Regions from separate parts of the Homo sapiens genome. Here region 1 is linked to region 2. The links are contacts of gene promoters, found by promoter capture Hi-C in human tissues and cell types (Jung and others, 2019). All regions are on one chromosome and are shown on one strand. Each heading gives the region's core, a stretch centred on a gene start or on the middle of the fragment in contact. The rest is flanking DNA. Distances are from core to core; before and after follow the strand shown.

Region 1 (2,729 bases), core at 76-2,575, 140 kb after region 2:
GGCTTGTTGAAAACCCCTAACCAGGCCTGAGGGCTTTGATGAGCACCCCCACCCTTCCTTCCTGGGTAAGTAGGACTCACAGTGCACCCACAGTTCTCTATCTATTCCATTATATCCTCCAGGTTGGTGAAGGTTTGAGTCTTATACCTCTTGACTACACCTGTGAAACATTTACATCTTGATCTGATATCTTACTTTATATCTATTATATCTTGATGCCTTGGTAGAATTTTCTGCTTCTGATTATCAAAAGCATGTGAACCAGAGCAACTCCATCTTGAACAGAAGCTGGGTAAAATAAGGCTGAAATCTGCCGGGCTGCATTCCCAGACAGTTAAGGAATTCTAACTTATAGGATGAGATGGGAGGTCAGCACAAGATACAGGTCATAAAGACCTTGCTGATAAAACAGGTTGCAGTAAAAAAGCCAGCCAAAACCCACCAAAACCAAGATGACAACGAGAGTGACCTCTGGCCGTATTCACTGCTACACTCCCACCAGTGCCATGACAGTTTACAAATGCCATGGCAACATCAGGAAGTTACCATATGTGGTCTAAAAAGGGAAGGCATGAATAACCCACCCCTTGTTTAGCATATCATCAAGAAATAACCATAAAAATGGGCAACCAGCAGCCCTTGGGGCTGCTCTGTCTATGGAGTAGCCATCCTTTTATTCTTTTATTTTCCTAATAAACTTGCTTTCACTTCACCCTATGGGATTCGTCCTGAATTCTTCCTTGCACGAGACCCAAGAATCCTCTCTTGGGGTCTGGATTGGACCCCTTTCCTGTAACACAATGACCAGACACTATGTTAATTTAGAAGCATTTTTCCCCCTACTTAAAATTCATGATGCAGTTTTGTTCAAAGTCTCCATATGCCTCTTCAACATCAGCATCTGCTTTGGCTGGAAGCAGTTTGGAGCCATCTCATACAGTTTTTTGGAGGCCCATCATCATTACTTAAACCTGTGTAAGATGCCACACTTAAAAAAAAAAACCTCACATATGATGTAGCCACTGAAAATATTATGCTAAGCCACAAGTAATCATTCTCATTTTTTTAGGACTGTTTTTCTTTCTTCTCCCTGTTTGTCTGGTTGCCATTCACAAATGCCATGACATAATAATATATGGATTTTTAAAGAGAGCTTATAAAACTTACAGTTGTGAACTCACACACCCAGGAATGATGAATAATTTGCTTCTTTTTAAAACGTACTGCATCAGATGACCTCTACAGGAAGCCCAAAGTAGCATGGACAGAGATAATTTCAGGTCATCGTGCCTTCTCCAAACAAAGTTCCAAATAATTTGTTATTTGTTTCGAATAAAGTACAGATGCTCCTTGACTTATGATGAGGTGTCCCAGTAAATCCATTGTAAGTTGAAAGTATAAGCTGAAAATGCATTTGGTACACCTAAACTGCCAAATATCATAGCTTAGCCTAGACTACTTTAAATGAGCTCAGAACACTTACATTAGCCAACAGTTGGAGAAAATCATCTAACACAAGGCCTATTTTATAATGAAGTGTTGAATACCTCATGTAGTTTATTAAATACTGTACTGAAAATATATTGCTTTTGCACCATGGTAAAGTTGAAAAATTGAAAGTGGAACTCTCATAGGTTGGGACCATCTCTAATTGAGAGAGTGCCTTGTATTAGGAGTGACTTTGTATTTTCTGAGCAAGAATTTTTGAGGACATCTCTGCCTTGTATAGAATATGTGATATTTACTCCCTGGTTCCCTGGGCATCCCTTGTGTGCTCATTTGCACCTTTAATTACAACTACTTTTTGTTGGGGCTTCCTGTGTAGTTTCTTAGGGCAAGAAACACTTTCAGAGGCTGCTAAATGGGAAGGAAAGAATAACTCTCTGAAGTCAACCTGAGTGTTAATTCAATTTCCAGGAACACAGAGTTCAAGCGAGACTCCAGCAGAGACAAAATAATCAAATCTCAGTTTTCAGACCCTTTCATTGATTGATGAGAATAGCACCTTTTGTATTTGACCTGTTGTTTCTGTGGCCTGCTCCCAAGGTTGCAAGTCTTTAGTAGCAATGAATCTACAAATGACCAGAAGCCTTAAGATGAAGCTTTCTGCGTCTGCCAGGTGAAAGGCAGGATTAGGGACTAGAGGGCTAACTGCCTGTTTCTCTGCAGGATGCTATTATTCTTAAGATTGGATGGAACTTTTCCCTGAAGAGTGTCAAATCATTTTTCTTGTTAATAACAAATCAATGGGCTCTAGCAGGTAAGGATCACACCAGGTGCTTGGGAAGGGTAAATTCTAGCCTGGCCTTGCTGCTGAATGGTGGGTTGAGTGCTGGTAAATCACCCTGCCTCTTTTGTGATTGTACTTGCAAGGCAGAGATTCTTAAACCTAGTATGCATAAAAATCACTTGTCAAAATGCAAATTATTGAGTTTCACCAACAGAAATTCTGTTTTAGTGGGTTTGACATGGGGTCTTGGAGTCTATTTTTTCGTTTTCTTTGAGACAGAGTCTCACTTTGTTGCCCAGGCTGGAGTGCAGTGGCACAATCTCGGCTCACTGCAACCTCTGCCTCCTGGGTTCAAGCGATCCCTCCACCTCAGCTTCCCAAGTAGCTGGGATTACAGACATGCACCACCACGTCTGGCTAATTTTTTTTTTTTTTTGTATTTTTGGTAGAAACAGGCTTTCAACATATTGGCCAGGCTGGTCTCGAACTCCTGACCTCA
Region 2 (2,700 bases), core at 201-2,700:
ACAAAATCCAGGCTTACTATGGTCACGGGCCCTACATAATCTGGTCCCCAGCTACCTCTCCATACTCCTTTACTCCTTGCTCCACAAGCCCTCCTCACCCCCACCCGCACCTGCCAGTCTTACAGACACAGGGCAACTTGTTTCCCCTTTGAAGGTTTTGCTCTAGCCGTTCCCTGTGTCTGAAACACTGTGTCCCTAGATCTTTGGATGGCTGGTCCTTTCAGCTTTCAACTCAAAGTTCTCCTTTTCGACGAGAACTCCCCTGACCCCAACCCAGGCAGTCCCCTTCCCACTCTCATTATACAGCCCTGCTTAGGCTGTCTCACGGAATTCATTATCTGAAGCTGTACTACTTACTTGTTTGCTTCATTGTTTATTTCCTCCCTGCCCCTTTAACCCAACTTCCAGGAAACCAGGAACTTAGCTTTTCTTATCCTGCTGCATCCCCAACCTCTACAACCGTGCCTGGCACAGACTGAGAGGCACTCAGCGAAAACCTCTTGTGTGGTGGAATGCTTGACTTTATAGAGGGCCCAGGGTTCAAGTTGGCTAGTGGCAGAGAGGGCTTACAACCTAGTTCTCCTGACTAATCAGAGGTAGAACTAAAGACTGGGCTCCAGCCCCTCATTTTTTTTTTTTTTTTTTTTTTTTTTGAGACGGAGTCTCGCTCTGTCTTCCAGGCTGGAGTGCAGTGGCGCGATCTCAGCTCACTGCAAGCTCTGCCTCCTGGGTTCACGCCATTCTCCTGCCTCAGCCTCCCGAGTAGCTAGGATTACAGGTGCCCGCCACCACGCCCGGCTAACTTTTTTGTATTTTTAGTAGAGACAGCGTTTCACCGTGTTAGCCAGGATGGTCTCAATCTCCTGACCTCGTGATCCACCCGCCTCGGCCTCCCAAAGTGCCGGGATTACAGGCGTGAGCCACCACGCCCGGCCCAGCCCTTCTGGCTAGAGCTGCAGGTCAGCGTTTAGGGAGAGTTTAAAGGATCTCTACAGGAACTTATAATGACAATAATGAAAAGAACAATAGCTGATACCTACTGAACACGCTCTATGTGCCAGGCACTGTTCTACGTATTTAATCTGAGTTTCATTTACGCTTCACGACCACACTGCGCGGTAGATACTATCATTACCCTTACTTTATGGATAAGGAAACTGAGTCACTGAGTTGTTAGGTTACCTGCCCAGCATACAGCTGAATATAAATCGTACGCTGCTATCAAAACTTTCTTTTGCTCTCACTCCGTCACACTGGCTGGGGTGAGACGATTTCTCGCATGTGACGACCCAGGACAGCCCCAGCGCCTCCGGGTCACAGGCCCCCGGACGTCCCAGGGCGCGGGCGCTAGGCGGGCGGGGAGGGGGGAGGGCGCAGGCCGGGATTGGTGGAAGAGAAGAGATTGGTGGAAGACAATGGAAGTCTAGTAGCGGAAGTCCCGCCCAGCCTAGGCCGAACTTCCGGCTCTCACTGCTAGGGGCTTAAGCGGAGGGAGTCGAGCCAGCGTCGCCGCGATGGTGTTGTTGGAGAGCGAGCAGGTATGGCTAGGCCTGGCCGGCCGAGGGAAGGGGGCGGCTCAGGCGTTACTCGAGACCTGTGCCTCCTGCAGGAGGACCAGGGCCTTGACGCGGCAGGACGAGGATTTGGGGCTGGCTAACGGGGCTGGGCCTGTTGTTTTCCAGTTCCTGACGGAGCTGACCAGACTTTTCCAGAAGTGCCGGACGTCGGGCAGCGTCTATATCACCTTGAAGAAGTGTAAGCAGCGGGAGGGGAGCCGGGCGATGCTCCCTGGGTTCCCGGTGTCTGGGAGCCACCGGAGTCTGTCTGCCGCGGACCGCCGCCTTCCTCTACCTTTCCCCACCCTGTACTGAGCACATTCGGGGCTTCGGGCCCGGAAAATAGTAGGGATTGTAGCTGGCTCAGTCCCCAGCACTGAGCCGCCTAGGTTGCTTCTGGTAACAATGGGCCCCAAGCAGCCCAGGGCTCTTTGTCAGGGATCCCAGACGCCGCCACTTTGAGTGGAATTTAACGTGCTTCGATATTACATGTTTCCGTCGTGGAAATAATAGTTTCTCCAGGGTTTCGCCAGACCGTGATAGCAGATGAGGTGTTTAACAAAACTAGAGCAGCGGGGCTGGGTTAGGTCATCACTTACCCCACTCCTCTGTTTTAACTGTTTGTCTGCCGCTCAGCCACGTACGCGGCCGTGTTCACCAGGATGCATTTTTTCCTTCAGATGACGGTCGAACCAAACCCATTCCAAAGAAGGGTACTGTGGAGGGCTTTGAGCCCGCAGACAACAAGTGTCTGTTAAGAGCTACCGATGGGAAGAAGAAGATCAGCACTGTGGTGAGCTTAATTTCTAAGGCTGTCTTTTGAAATGTAAAGACTTGAACTTAACAGAGGATGGGGCGTTTCTGAACCAGGCTTTTATTTGTTTTTCCCTTTTGCCCTGTGTGGCTATTTTTGAGACCAGGACCTTCCTATACTTTAGTAGTGGAAACCTCAAGAATAAAATAAGAAGGTAGAGGTCAGACAGTCGTTAGTTCTGCTAAAGCTCTTGTGGAAATGAAAGTAGCATATTGGTCCTTATTCGTAGTACTGTAAGGAGCAGCTGGCATAAATATTTGATTCCTTAGCCCCTTACTGTGCTGGGCCTTCAATAAGCAGTTTCTTGGTACCAGGTGATGCTATTATTTC

Evidence for each region. The method cuts DNA at HindIII sites, captures the fragments that hold promoters and counts their contacts. A contact is called where the count stands out against the background at its distance.
Region 1: a contact is called between a fragment that was not itself captured here and the fragment with the promoter of SRP14 in region 2, in 1 of the 25 tissues and cell types used here (liver).

Annotation. Positions count from the first base shown.
Region 1 is chr15:39,901,857-39,904,585 of GRCh38, reverse strand. All of the region lies in intron 1 of GPR176 (G protein-coupled receptor 176), which reads left to right. Among named protein-coding and RNA genes, the nearest start is that of GPR176, 17 kb to the left of the region's middle. The HindIII fragment of the contact is 3,146 bases long and covers 1-2,729 here.
Region 2 is chr15:40,037,931-40,040,630 of GRCh38, reverse strand. SRP14 (signal recognition particle 14) reads left to right here and starts at 1,450. Exons shown (of 5, transcript NM_003134.6): 1 at 1,450-1,538; 2 at 1,683-1,755; 3 at 2,237-2,349. The coding sequence starts at 1,515. SRP14-DT (SRP14 divergent transcript) reads right to left here and starts at 1,320. Exons shown (of 3, transcript NR_040060.1): 1 at 1,183-1,320. It overlaps LOC124903471 (a long non-coding RNA gene), which reads right to left. Exons shown (of 2, transcript XR_007064596.1): 2 at 2,222-2,700. RefSeq lists a silencer at 1,247-1,456 and enhancers at 542-1,486, 1,537-1,716, 1,737-1,786, 1,487-2,432. The HindIII fragment of the contact is 11,754 bases long and covers 1-2,700 here.